Linked DNA regions of Homo sapiens: regions 1, 3, 4 and 5 are each linked to region 2. Evidence: promoter capture Hi-C in 16 types of primary human blood cells and fetal thymus (Javierre and others, 2016). All regions are on one chromosome and are shown on one strand. Each heading gives the region's core, a stretch centred on a gene start or on the middle of the fragment in contact. The rest is flanking DNA. Distances are from core to core; before and after follow the strand shown. Region 1 holds the start of ARPC5 (actin related protein 2/3 complex subunit 5). Region 2 holds the start of LAMC1 (laminin subunit gamma 1). Region 3 has its middle 6.5 kb from the start of NCF2. Region 4 overlaps SMG7 (SMG7 nonsense mediated mRNA decay factor). Region 5 overlaps RGL1 (ral guanine nucleotide dissociation stimulator like 1).

Region 1 (2,700 bases), core at 64-2,563, 610 kb before region 2:
ATTTTAAGTGACATGTCTCGTTCAAACATTATGAGTGGAAGAGTCAACACTTAAGCCTGAGTTTTCTGATTCTAAGCCTAGTGCTCTTTTCAACACAGCACTGGAAACCAAAGATTGTGGTACACAACAGGGCAACAGCCAGTCTTCTGCTCGAGGTCCAACTAAACTGGACCCATACCGAGCAGTGTCCAGCCAAATGTCCAAATTAATTTTATCCTGCAAATATTTGTTCTTCAGTGTAATACACACAGCACAACTACCATTTCCTTCGTCTTAGTGCCTTTATCTCCTACATTCCAGAAATGGGGATGTCAAATATTTTTTTAAATCTGGCCTAGATGGAATCATATAAATCTCAAATCATAATATAAATCTTAAAGGTCTGGTTTCCACCAATCCTTCCACATTTTGTTTTCCCCCAGCACTAGAGAGCCTAACCTACCCTCACCCCTTTCGAGCATTCTTGCTCCAAACGACCACCTATTTTAAGATGTCAATGACCCTTTCCCAAATTCTACAAATTCACCCCAGTTTTGCCACCCGACCCCAGCGCCTGCCCGGACACGTTCCCCTCCCTCCCAATAGATTTGATACCGAGTTCAGGTTCTGCAGATCCCGTTGCGATGCTGTCACACAGCACTGACAGATAAGATTTGACCTTTCGACTCCGTCCTTGGGGACTTCCCGCTGGCCAAGAAGGGTAGTTCCAATCCCAGGAAACGGGCTTCCTGCTCAGGAACGCAGCCTCTAGCAGCGCACAGTCTGAGGCAATGTCTCCGGCAATTAGAACGATGCTGGGCGCCCGGGTGTGCATCACTCTGCCTCATACTCCTACCAACTGCAGGGCACTCGGTCCGGCAGCCAGTCCATCCCACCCACAGCCAAGTCCCAGCCAGCCGGACCTTACGCAGGACCCCGATGATAGGTCGTTGACGGCTGCAGCAAAAGCCAAGGCCACCTGCCGCTGCTGCCCATCCCCGCCAATCTGAGACCCCCTAGACTGGACCGCAGAAAAGCGTTTCTATGGGAACCCCCCCACCGAGAATCACGTGACGCAATCGGACGACCAATCGCTTCTTACCTCTGCCCGCGGTCCAGCTTTTGGCCCTCCCTCTCGCCCCCGCCTCCTTCGCCCAGCCCCGCCCCTTGCCTGCGGAGAGCCCGCGCCTGCGCGCTGTGTCCTGCGCGCTCCTTCCCTCGCGCGCGCTCTCCGTGGAAGAGCAGGGGCAGCGTGGGAGGCGCCAAGGGAGCGCGAACCTGAGGAGGAAGAAACGGGGCTAGCGCGCAGGCCCAGAACGGTCCGAGCCGCGGCAGTCGGCGACGCCTCAGAGCGGAAGAGGGAAGTGAATCAGGCGCCGGGTAGTGGGTTGCTGGGCTGGGCTTGCTGAGGTAGAGGCAGCGCCAAGAAGAGGCCTTTGCCGCTGGTCGGGATTGGGATGTCGAAGAACACAGTGTCGTCGGCCCGCTTCCGGAAGGTGGACGTGGATGAATATGACGAGAACAAGTTCGTGGACGAAGAAGATGGGGGCGACGGCCAGGCCGGGCCCGACGAGGGCGAGGTGGACTCCTGCCTGCGGCAATATCCTTGCATTCACCGCCCTCCCCACCCCAGCCCAGCCCAGCCCGCCCTTCTCCTGGGACCCGGGAGCCTGCAGGATCCGCGGGGCACCGGCGCGGAGCTGCCCTCTCAACCTGCGGCTTAACCTGTCTCTTTGGGATCGCCCGCTCTGAGAGGGCAAGGGGGAAGCCCCCGTTTCCTACCCAGTCGGCAGGAGACGCGAGGGTCCCACTCTTGGAAGCCTGCCCTCCCCCGCGCGCCTTCCACGCCCCCAGATTCCTCAGGTTGCACCCGAGTGCCTGCCTGCCTCGGGAACTGGTCCCGCCGGCCGCGCCCTCGCGGCGCTGGGGAAGGCGGCCCCGGCTGGTGGGGAAGGCTGGTGCCGAGCGCCTTAGTTTTTCTTCCTAGAACTCTGATTTCCTGGGGTCACATTAGCTCCAGAAATTTCTGATTGTGGGGAACCTGCATCTTTCCTTAGTGGTTTTGTTTTTTGTTGTGTTTTTGTTATTGGTAGCGTTAAGGTAGTTTATTCCTTACCGGGGGGCGGGGGGAGATGGGACTGTTCGAAAATTGAGGGTCCCTGTGCTTTCAGCCCATTGGCCTTTTTAAAAAAAAAAAAAAAAGAAGAAGAAGAAGGGGATTTGGCAAAATATACATTGTACAGAATTTGTTAACTGGGGGAGGGGAATGAATACAAAAAATACAAAACTCCTAGAAGGAAGCTTGGAGCCTTTTACCTGCTAAGAAAAGGACAATAGAAAAAACAACGGGGAATGCGTGTGGAGAATCCTTGGAAATATTTAAAATAAACCCCAATGAATAAGATAGAAGATGAGTCATTCGTATAAAGCAGAATCATTTTTGTAATCCTAAAATTGTTTCCATTTTAGTTAAAATATGGCAGTCAGTTCCCGGTTTCTGTTTTTGCATATTTGAATATTCATAACTTTGGCTTCGCATTTGCATTACATCTTTTTTAGAAAAATGTAAATGTTGCAAAAAAACCGAAGCTGTAGTTTTAGAAAATCTCAGACACTGAATTTGTATGCATTTCTAATTCTTGGGTGTATTCATAAGGAAGACTCTCAACAATGTCCTGTTATAGTGGGGAAATATGAGAGTGAAAATATTTAATGGCAACA
Region 2 (2,700 bases), core at 62-2,561:
TCGCTTTGTGGTTCTTAATTAAGGCTGAGCAGCTATAAAGAACAATAACTTCAAAAGTGAATTTATGTTTTAATTACACATAGGCAATATAGGCAGCGAAGGCATTTGCTCCCCTCAAATTCCCCCTTAACTCAACAGAGCAATCACCCTCAGCCCTGGAAGGACATCTAAACATTTTAAAGGCGAAAGTGTTTAAGGCGGACCTTCTTGTTTCCGATCCAAGAATGCGCTGTGATGACCTTGCTAGCAAAGAGAAAAGTGGGGATGGGAGTTTCTGATTAACGCTTCAGAAAAAAAAGGGGGAAATCACAATCCTAACAGCCGAAATGCAGAATAATCAGAGAGCCAGAATCCCGTTAAGTCAGAAAGAACAGGAAAGCAGAGAGACTCGTGCGGAACATCCTGGCCCTCACGGGATGTTAAAAGCAGTATCTATTTAAGAAGTTGGAGAAAGGAGTTTCTGTGTGGCCCATGCCGGGGAACAGAGAGCAAACACGCGGCCGTCTGCGCCCGTGAGGCCGGCCACTGGGACGGAGCCGGTCCGGGAGCTGGGCTGCTGGCGAGCAGTAGCAGGGGACGGGGCTGTCACCGCTTACCCAGGTGCAGCGTGAGGTTGATGGAGCTGGGGTACTGCACCCCGGCCAGCATGGTCTGGCTTTGCCACCAGGTGGTGTCGGCCTGGTTGTTGTAGTCGGTCAGGAAGGCTGCCCCGTGCTGCAGGTGGGGCTGCCCGGCGTCGCACAGGTGACAGGACTTGGTGACCCCGGTCACCCCGGTCTGCACACAGTATTCCTCGGGCGGAGTCCCACACGTGTTGGTGGCCACCACAGTCACGTTGAAGGCGGCGTTGACGAACTCGGGCATGCAGCGCTGCGGCCGCCCGCCCTCGTCCGTGCACTCGTCCATGGCTGCCTGGGCACAGCCCGCCGCGGCGGCCGCCGCCAGCACGGCCAGCACGGGCCAGAGCCGCCCCCGGGGCCGCAGGGCCGGCGCGGCCCGATGGCTCCCTCTCATCCCGCCGCCCGCACGCTGGGTCACGGCGAAGGCAAGGGCACCGGCGCGTTCCTCTCGCCTAGCGGCGTCCCCCGGAGGCCGCTTCGCTGCTTGAGCCTGGGGGCCCAGGGGCCTGACTCCGGCGCGGGCGGTGGCGGCGGCTCGCGCCGGAGAGACTGACGGGTGGGCGCCCCTAGCGAGGACCGCGCTGCTCGCCGACCACTGCCCCCGCGCGCCGCCTCCGCGCTTCCCTCACCTACCCCGGGAGCAGCCTGCACTCCGCGCCGACCCCCGACTTCCGAGCGCGTGCCCGAGTGCGCGCCCCCGGGGAGGAAGGAGCAGGGGGTGGGGTCGGCAGGGTGGGGTGGGGTCTGGGCGAGGAGAAAGCCCAACCCTGTCTCCTCTCAGCAACTCCCGCGGCCCCTGGGGCAACTCCCCGGCCCACCGCGCCCCATGGACTGCGCGTCCGCCCCGGCGACTCCAGGAGGCGGCGGGGGCGGGAGCAGCGGCGTCTCGCGCTCGGGCCCGCGGCGCGCGACCCGGGGGGAGGGGCGCGCGAGGTGGGCGGGGAGCCGGGGGAGGGGGTTGGGGGAGGGGAGGGGAGAGGAGGGGAGAGGAGGGGAGGGGAGAGGAGAGGAGGGGAGGGGAGGGCGGCTGGGTGGTGCATGCCGGGAGGGAAGGGCGGCCTCGCAGACCCGCTCCCCGCGCGGGAGTCGCTGGGGTCCTTGGGCTCCGCGGCCTGGGAGACTCCGGATTGCGGGAGGAGTCGGGGGAGGGCGCCTTAGAGGGGCGATGCCGGGTCAGGAGGTCGCTCGGGGTCGTCCCTGGGGCCTCGCGCCAATTTGGGCTGCGGCAAGAGGGTCCCCGCCCGGCCAGGTGTGGGTCCGAACCGGGAGCGCCCGCTGCTGCCCGGGGCCCCGCTCCAGCCCCTCCCGAACAGAGGTCCCGGGGCGTTCATGGGGCCGACACGGTCCCTGGAGAATCAGAAGGGCCTGGTCGCAGCAGCCAGATGAGTTTCGTGAAGCGATTTCCTGCCGCTGATTTAAAGTGTAACCAGTCGTTTTACCGGGGCAAGGAAGGAAGTGAAAAGGCTGGGAATGGAATGAATTTTTCCCTTGGGTACGCACGACCCACTGCGAAATTCTTCCACTGTGTTGTTTGTGTTCCTCGGCTTGCCTTTAAAAGACTCGAAATTATGTGGATTCTGACATCCTCCTTTTCGGGCCTGCTGAGTCACGGAATATTCTCAGTGCCAGAATGACTCAGTTCACAGAACCTGAGCCAGAAGATCATGAGTTTTAGTCCCGGAGCAGAACCTGGGCGCTTACCCAGTGCTGGATACGGCAAGCAGAGACCAGGGCAGGGAGGCAGCAGCTTGAAACCCTTGGCGTCCCCAAGCAGAGAGGATGCACATAGTGAATGACACGGATTTGTTTTGTTCTAGCTTTTCAGGAATTTAATGATAAAGTGCGGATAATAAGTACACCGCAAAAACAAAACAAAAAAACACATGCATAATTTCGGACCCAGTTGTCCCATTAAGATAGGCGTAATGGGAATCTGAAACAAGGAAATAAGTATATGTTAGGTGACTCTGGATAGTTAGGGTTAGTTAGACGCAGACTGCTGATTAGGAAAACCTTAAGGATAATGTTCTGGTAGGATGAAGAAGGGAGGGGAATCTAGGGTCTTGTTACACGGCTGAGC
Region 3 (2,700 bases), core at 122-2,621, 570 kb before region 2:
GTATTAGTCAAGTCTATTTTTTGGCATACAACAAAACTAATTACAGCAAACTTAAGCAAACACTGAAATTTATTGCAAGGGTCTAAGCTTGGGGCAGGAATTTGGATGGGGCTCAGGAAAGGCTGGAACCGGAGACTGAAAAGTTTCTGTGTCTCTTGTCTCTGCTCCTCGCTGGGCATCTGTTCCATTCTCTCTGAGTAGTCTGGCTTCCTCTGCTTTCCGGGGCCTCAGGGCACAGCATGATAGAACTGCAGCTCCTAGGTTTATACACCTCTCAGTCCTAAATCCTGAATCACAGGAGACATAACCTAATGAGGCCAGCTTGTCAGATGCCCACCAGGGTCCAACCAGCCAGGACTCAGGCAGTACAAATGTGGCCACAGGGCCTACCATCCTTCTATGGATTACACAGGCAGGTCCCAGAGAAGAGACAGGCATATACCCTAACAGATGTCCACTCTTCACTTGTTCATTCATTCAGTGATTCAGCAAATAGTTATTGTATGTCCAGACACGGTCGTTAGGGACACTACAGGGAAAGCAAAAGGGAATCTTTAAAAATTTTGTTTTGCAGAAAATCTAATCTTGCATGTTCTCACTTATAAGTGGTAGCTAAACATTGAGTATACATGAACACAAAGATGGGAACAATAGACACTGGGGACTCCAAAAGTGGGAAAGGAGACGGGTGGGCAAGAGTTGAAAAACCACCTATCGGGTACTATGTTCACTATTTGGGTGACAGGATCAATAGAAGTCCAGACCTCAGCATCCTGCAATATACCACGTGACAAACCTACACATGTACCTCCTGAATCTAAATTTTTTTAAAAAATTCTGTTCTGCTAAATAGGGGGTAGATTTCTAACTCTTCTGTGCCCCCTCCGCTTTTTTGTACAATGACGTGATCAGTTTCTACTCCTTCAACATCAGTAACTGTCTTGTTAGAGCATCATTTCCCCTTAGATACTCACTGGCTTGGGAAACACACACAAAAACTATCCTGAGACAGGAATCTTCCTAAAGAAAAAGACCCACGGAGTTTTGAACACATGTAAAAGAGATCCCTGGCTCTATGACTAGATTGCATTTAGTGAATGGGTACTCTAGACGAAAAATGCAGGACTGAAAAGGCCAACTGCATCCAAAAAGGGAAAGTTCCTAAGATATGCAGGACTAGAATCATGCCACATCAACCATATTTCTTTTTTACTTTTCAGATCAGCACATATTTATTAAGACTTTGATATAAGATGTTAGGTGCCAGTTCTGTGGAAAATGTAAAGAAATAGAAAGCCTGTTCCCTGCCCTCAAAGAACCTATTTATAGCTAGCTGGATAGATAAGGTAGAAAACAGATAATGTGATAGAGTGCTTGTGTTTTGGGGTTTGATCATAAAATGCTATAGGAATTCAGAGAAAAAAATTACTGAGACTAACTTACATCAGGGAAGACTTTACGTAGGATGTGAGTCTAAGCTGAGCTTTTACAGATGGACAGATGGACAGGATTTGGATCTGCAGAGAAATGTCAAAGGGCAATTTTTTTTTTTTTTTAAGATGGAGTCTCGCTCTGTAGCCCAGGCTGGAGTGCAGTGATGCAATGTCGGCTCACTGCAACTTCTGCCTGCCAGGTCCAAGAGAGTCTCCTACCTCAGCCTCCTGAGTACTATTTTTAGTACTATTTTTAGTAGAGACAGGGTTTCACCATGTTGGTCAGGCTGGTCTCCAACTCCTCACCTCGTGATCCGCCCACCTTGGCCTCTCAAAGTGCTGGGATTATAGGTGTGAGCCACTGTGCCTGGCCCAAAGGACAATTTATAGTGAGGATCCAGTGTATTTACTTGCTTCATTCAGGATTCAGATCTTTAATCTCTATGCATTCATTCATTTATTCATCAAACTTTTACTGAGTGACCACCTATGCAGGTACTAGACATTGTGTGTGTAAAGGGTACAAATATGAAAAAGAGTGCTTAATATGAGGTGTCTTTAAATGAATAGGCATTATACATTCCCTCATTTTCATCTAGGATGCTAGGACACATATATTTAGCCAAGCAAATTAAGTAATCACACTGACTTTAAAAGCACCTTCCATGGCATCGCTATTTAACAGATATGTTAAAAATCCACCATATCATGGGCACAAAAGATACAGTGGAAAAATCAGACACAGATCTTGTATTTTCGGGGCTTACAGTCTAGTTGAGAGACAGTCGTTTAAACAAGTAATTACAATCACATGTGCTTGAACACACATTAGGAGAGGTAGAGAGAAACCTCCTTGAGTGCACATGGCAGGAATAATTAATCTCACTGGTAAGTCAGGGAAGAAGACTGGAGCTGCTGAGGTGTGGCAGGTGGAATTCTAAGATGATCCCTGATGATCCTTGCCTTTGTGTAATCCCCTCCCCTTGAGTGGGAGAGACCTGTAACTTGCTTTTAATCAATAGAACATGGCAAAGGTGAAGGGATTTTTGCAGAGATGATTAACATCCCTAAGCAGTTGGCTTTAAATTAATCAAAAGGGAGAATATTCTGGGTGGGCCTGGCCTAATCAGGTGACTCCTTTAAGAGAAGGTCTAGAGGTAAGAGACTTAATGAAGCAGAGATTCTCTCTGCCTCCATTGCTGGCCTTGAAGAAGGAAGCTTTCATGAATTCTATAGCTACAGATGAATTCCACCAACAAACCAAGGG
Region 4 (2,700 bases), core at 68-2,567, 530 kb before region 2:
GAATGCCCTATTCTCACACGGCTATTTCAGATACATGTTTATTGGTCTTATGTATCAGAAAGAATTTGCTAACCTTAAGAATTACTATTAAGTCAGACTCTAAGTTAAAAATCTCAATTTTAAAAAGTGCAGAGCTGGGCACAGTGGTGTGCACCTGTAGTCCCAGCTACTTGGGAGGCTGAGATGGAAGGACTGCTTGAGCCCAGGAGTTTGAGTCTAGAGTGGGCAACACCACAAGACACTGTCTCAAAAAAAAAAGTGCAATTTTTCTGCAAAGAATGAACACCTACAAATAAAACTAAAAAGCAGCTGAGAACCATAAGATAGAACCTCTATTTTCTCCCTTACATCTCTGCTGGCTACTGAGGATGTAAAAAGTTTTGTCAGTAGCATTTATTACATAAACCGGCTTCTTCTTTTTTTTTTTCTATTTCCTTTCAGAAGTTACAAAAACAAACAAACAAAAAATAAAAATAACCCAACAAATGATATATTTGTAATTACAGAATCTCACTATCCCTTAATCAATCTGAGTGTACAGGAAATGTAAGGTCTATAATTTAAAGAGTAGTTAATACCTGAACTGGCAGGAAGTGATGGAGACCACGGAGTCCCTTCAAAAAGGGAATACAGAGATGTTTCCTGGGGGGCCATTGAGGGACTGAGTTCTGCTTTGGAGCTGGATGTCAGGTTTTTCCCATATACCTCATTGAACATACTATTATTTGGGTATCTTTCCTGAAAGACATGACAGTGAAGTTATAAACTCACCCCAAGGAAAGAGATTTGAGAAAATCCAATGTCTTGTTCATGGATGCTTGGTACACCTTAAGCTTTTCTTAGGAAGAGAAATTTTGAAGGCTTTTATTTCTTTTTGTTTCAATTTTCCAGTCAAATTAATTTTCCTCTTTGCTTTCTCTCACCCTTAAATTTGCTCTGTGTAAACTATCCAGGTTGAAAATGTGAATAATTTATTTGGCTCAAAAAGAGAGCCCTAAGGGTTTCAATATTAATGAGAAGTTAAAGGGTTTTAATTCATGATGTACAAGTCACTAGTATGCCCCAATCAGAGACAAGGGGGATAAAATCAAATATCTGGAATACACTAATACATGGAAAATAAAGAAAAAACAGACATACTGAAACAGTATGAGAAAGACAATGATCAGTCTACACTAAAAGCACACAGCAGGATTCTTCATTGTTCACCTACCTGATTGAGAGAGAATCCGGTGAGGGACAGGAAAGAGGATGAATGTGACATGAGCTCTGAGGGCTTCTCCAATAAGGATTTCTTCACAGTCCCAGAAAAAAAGGTAATTAAGTTATACCTTCTATTTTCTTAATATTAATCTTACCATACTATGGAACCAAAGCAAAAGCATGCCTGTATTCGCCCACTGAGTACAATTTGAGGCTCAGAAGATGTGAATTCAAATCTGTTAACACCAAGACACCGCCTAAGTGCCAGTTGCCACAGGTGCATAGAATCCTCCTTTTAGATCAAACCTAGTCAGAGATTATATTCTGGCAGGGACCAGAGACCCTGGTAAACAGCACTCTGAGTGTTTATGAGGCATGGACCTCAGGAATCCCCTTGTCAATAGTTGCACTTAATCTCAAAACAAAATGCTGAACTGTTCCAACACTGTTTCTCTCCACCCCACAATTTTTAAAACATTAACATTGGTGACTTTTAAAAAGCCTTTCAAATCCATTTGACAAATGGCTTTGTTAATATGCTTTTTAAGCAGCTCTATTTGCAGTATATAGTAAAACAGTTGCTAAAAGTCAAGCTTACATTTATTGGCCCTAGCAAAGTTATTAGGAGAAACAAAGCTGAATCTCTAATGCTGTCACTGAATAGCTGGCTAATAAAACATTACTAAATACCTACGACAAGAGAAGCACTTTGACATACGTTGTATCATTAATGTTAAATATTGGAAGGGTTATAGTCGAAGTTTTTTTTATTCATTGTTGTCTTTTAAACATGAAAAAAAAACCCTGAAAATACTCCCACTTGTTCTACCATCAGCTCCATTTCCAATGAAAGGGACACTAAGGGAACAGGAACAGGAACTAAGGGATTAGGAAACAAGTGGACAGAGAAGCACTACCCTCAGTCCTTAAAGCCACTCTAGCATAAAAGCCACAAGAAAGGCAAACATAGAGAGGCAACAGTATAGCAGCTGAGCTTCCACAATCCCTGTGCGCTCAGCCATGGCACTGCTACCATTTAAGTCTCCAGGGGGATCTTTTATTGCTATTATTTAATAACTTGGTATGGGGCCCCTACTGCTACTACCCAGGCAAATTCTTAAGGGAACTTCAAGTGCCAGGGATGGCAGCAATGTCATGAAAGCTGTTAAGGTTTTATTTCTCTTGACACTAAAATTAATGTACTTTAATTTTACGAATGTGTTCTTGCCCTGTGTTTATGAGAAAGAAACAGCAAGAAAGTAAAATTTACTATCTTTTTATGTTTTATTAAGGTGTAATAAAGAGAGGGGAAAAAGCCTCATAGCATACATCTTTCTTTCCATCTTTTATACTCCCCACCCACAGTAAAATATAATATGAACACTGACAAGCATATAGAATGATGTTCTTTGAAATGCAGGCTGAGTTCTCAGATTTTATTTTATGTGATTCTAGTTATTTTCATATTTACTCATTTATGACACTCTGACAATGTTT
Region 5 (2,801 bases), core at 211-2,710, 890 kb before region 2:
ACATGTGTCTCATCCCTGGTGTAAGTACTCTGAGTCCCCATCAGTGGTAGATGCCTATCGGTGACTCAGTGTGACCTAATCACTCTATAAGCACGTGAGGCAAAGCAGTTCTATTTCCCTAGGTTTTAGCTGTTCTTATAGAAGTTAACCAGCAGGTGGCAGCAGACACCAGAAACTGGAGGCAATATGGGTTCCCAAAGAAGTCAGAAGCTTACGGGGCTGGAGGAAAGCCTTGCCAACGCAGTTGATTCAGTCCTACTGCAGTCAGATTTCGTAGTGAGAGAGAAAGTTCTGTATTTTTAGAAGTTTCTAAGAGAAGTACCCCAGATTATACGGCTCTGCATTGAATATTAGTGCTAGAAAGGCCTTGGACATCAACTAGTCCCATACCTGTTCTGCTGAGGAACCTGAGACCCAGGGAGAAAACTGGGGCTCCAGGTCCACACAGCTAGTTGACAGCACCCCTAGAACAGGAACCCAAGCTCCCTGATTCCCACTGTCGAGTTCCCAGAGCAAGCACATGGCCAAGGCTCAGCCTGTGGCTGATGACAATAAGATGAATCAACATAGTATGCTGCTACCTCGGTATGTTTAGTACTGTGAGGCTTATCATGAACTTTCATATTATCTTATCCCATTTTAATTCCACAACTGTCTTGTGAACAAAATGCAGAGCATTATAAAGACGAGGAGAATAAGATTCAGAATATAAAAGTGACTTGCTCAAGGGAAATACAGCCTTTAAGCAGCTTCACCACTTTCCACATTTGCTAGTAGAGCCAACTGTATACATTTTCATGATGTGTATCAAGGACAATTAAGAAATGGAGTACTACAGTTAATATGCTTTTCTGATTAACTACACATTTCTCATCCATGCAATACCAATAACCAAAGAAAGAAGTTATTGGAAGAGGTACTTTTAAAAATCATTAAATTGAACCATTTAAAATACCCATTATTATTGTAGAAAATTATAAAGAATTTCCCGGAATGACTTAAGCTAAATTATACCATGTTAATCCTATAAAATATTCTGGAAGTCATTTATAAAATAAATAACATTTCTTTCATATTTATCTGCCTTTCCATGGAAACAGTATAGAAGTTGAGCTTTCTGGTTATCAGGCTTCTGATTAAAATGGAGTCTATTATCTTATTTCCTGTAGATTTCCTCCTGTGGCATAATTATACATTCAGTTCTATTGCACAGTTAGTTTACAGCCAGCCAGCTGATGTGACAATTCTCATGGGTAGGGGTCTGATTGTGGCTCTATCATAATATGGTTTAGTTTTTGTTTTGGTTTTTGGGTTTTTTTCTTCCTTATGTTCCCAAATGAATCAACTTAGTGGCTCAATTTGAGGACTAACTGATGATAGATAAGTTAATAGCATAAGTTTCTTTGCAGATATATTAGTTAAGGGGGTGCATTTTCCAATTATTCATTCAATTTTTTCGCCTTCATGTTCCTCTATCCAAACTCTATTTCCTTTGTTAGATTTTTCTATGATTCTAGTGACATTTATAGTTAAGATAAAGCCTAGAATATGCCTGGGTTATAGCAGCTCTAAACAGACTGCCTGATGAGCCCCCAAATTCCTATTGAGAATTTAAGAAGTGAGGAGCAAGTGCAAAAATCAATATTTAGAAATCATGATCGGGGAATGAAGAAAGGAATGCAAATAAATTACACTTCACCCTTAAGAGCAACCTCACAGTGCAGCCTGTGGAAAAGGAAGAATGACAGTCTGGAGGACTTTTGGAGAAGGCGGCTGTCACAGGCTCTCAGGTCAGGAAGGAAGTGTGGAGGTCAGCTCAGTCCAGCTATGTGCCAAGCAGGAGAATCACGAGCCTTTCTAGCTAATATGCAGGGATTGTGCAGTCCAGGAGCTACTTGCATCCAAGTGAATCACTGATGTTTAAGAAATGTATGACTCTGAGAAAGGTTCATCCAAAGAATAAAGAGCCATGACTTCTGCAAGAATTTAAAAAGCCAGTCTGATGAGGGATGAGACAAAAAAGATGAAGCAAGGGATGTGCAGGAGAAAGCACACTGGGCTTCTGCATAGTTTTAAAAGGTACCATTTGGACCAATGTACATTTCCACTATGCCACAAGGTGTGACTGTGATTCCATCTCCTTCCTGGAGAGACAGGGAGAAATCCCACAATAATGTGGGCAATACCTCAGTTATTACTTTCCTACAATGTCTACCATCAGAAATGGAGCCTATAAAACCTCAGAGGCTGTGAAAAAGTGAATGATGAGACTGCATTCCAGATTTTGACAAAGCTAATTTGTATGTCAAGTCACGAAGAATGACTACATCCCGGGTTGAGGAAAAATGCCTTTTGAGAGCATGGCCAGTCCGTAGGTGTCCACGAAGGCTTTCTTTCAATATTTAGAGCATGAATGATTGTATCCCCTGGATTTCAAAGCAGAAAGCTAAGAAATCCAACTAGAGCAGCAAATTAGTCATCTCAGTTTGATGAATCCTGAATATGATGCTTTTCCTGGATTGGCTACATTATGACAAAGTCACTTGAGGGTTCCAGGATTACCACTGTTGTTTTAACACCATGTGAAGCAACACACATGTCCCCTTGAAGAGCAGCAGATATAAACCAAGGGATGAAACCATTGCCAACATTCTACCTTACTGACCTAACCATAAGCTAAGGAGCCAGAAGTCACTATTGAGTAAGCTTGGTTAGCCAGAAACCTTCCCCAAATGGTGCAAATTCTAGTTATGTCATAGTTGACTTTCTGATCCAAACCCTTCAACCAACAGATTGAAGCA

What was found. The method cuts DNA at HindIII sites, captures the fragments that hold promoters and counts their contacts. A CHiCAGO score of 5 or more calls a contact.
Region 1: a contact is called between the fragment with the promoter of ARPC5 here and the fragment with the promoter of LAMC1 in region 2, in 5 of 17 cell types (total B cells, naive B cells, fetal thymus and 2 more). The highest score is 12.3, in total B cells.
Region 3: a fragment that was not itself captured here is called in contact with the fragment with the promoter of LAMC1 in region 2 in 1 of 17 cell types (naive B cells); the score reaches 5.9 in naive B cells.
Region 4: a fragment that was not itself captured here is called in contact with the fragment with the promoter of LAMC1 in region 2 in 2 of 17 cell types (endothelial precursors and total B cells); the score reaches 7.1 in endothelial precursors.
Region 5: a contact is called between a fragment that was not itself captured here and the fragment with the promoter of LAMC1 in region 2, in 1 of 17 cell types (total B cells). The highest score is 5.3, in total B cells.

What each region holds. Positions count from the first base shown.
Region 1 is chr1:183,634,396-183,637,095 of GRCh38, reverse strand. It overlaps ARPC5 (actin related protein 2/3 complex subunit 5), which reads left to right and starts at 1,313. Exons shown (of 4, transcript NM_005717.4): 1 at 1,313-1,579. The coding sequence starts at 1,437. It also overlaps a transcript of RGL1 not described here. RefSeq lists silencers at 1,030-1,189, 1,670-1,719, 1,800-1,859, 1,811-2,029 and enhancers at 1,340-1,619, 1,617-2,117. The HindIII fragment of the contact is 3,712 bases long and covers 1-2,282 here.
Region 2 is chr1:183,022,031-183,024,730 of GRCh38, reverse strand. It overlaps LAMC1 (laminin subunit gamma 1), which reads right to left and starts at 1,311. Exons shown (of 28, transcript NM_002293.4): 1 at 597-1,311. The coding sequence starts at 1,014. RefSeq lists enhancers at 395-948, 1,504-2,058, 2,059-2,614 and silencers at 903-1,042, 1,063-1,132, 1,183-1,572, 1,603-1,992. The HindIII fragment of the contact is 7,676 bases long and covers 1-2,700 here.
Region 3 is chr1:183,595,598-183,598,297 of GRCh38, reverse strand. It overlaps a transcript of NCF2 not described here. Among named protein-coding and RNA genes, the nearest start is that of NCF2, 6.5 kb to the right of the region's middle. The HindIII fragment of the contact is 2,564 bases long and covers 90-2,653 here.
Region 4 is chr1:183,547,802-183,550,501 of GRCh38, reverse strand. It overlaps SMG7 (SMG7 nonsense mediated mRNA decay factor), which reads right to left. Exons shown (of 23, transcript NM_001375584.1): 19 at 1,214-1,294; 20 at 579-738. Among named protein-coding and RNA genes, the nearest start is that of NCF2, 41 kb to the left of the region's middle. The HindIII fragment of the contact is 963 bases long and covers 836-1,798 here.
Region 5 is chr1:183,913,516-183,916,316 of GRCh38, reverse strand. The region is part of intron 15 of RGL1 (ral guanine nucleotide dissociation stimulator like 1); the gene reads right to left. Among named protein-coding and RNA genes, the nearest start is that of RGL1, 110 kb to the right of the region's middle. RefSeq lists an enhancer at 83-272. The HindIII fragment of the contact is 2,496 bases long and covers 213-2,708 here.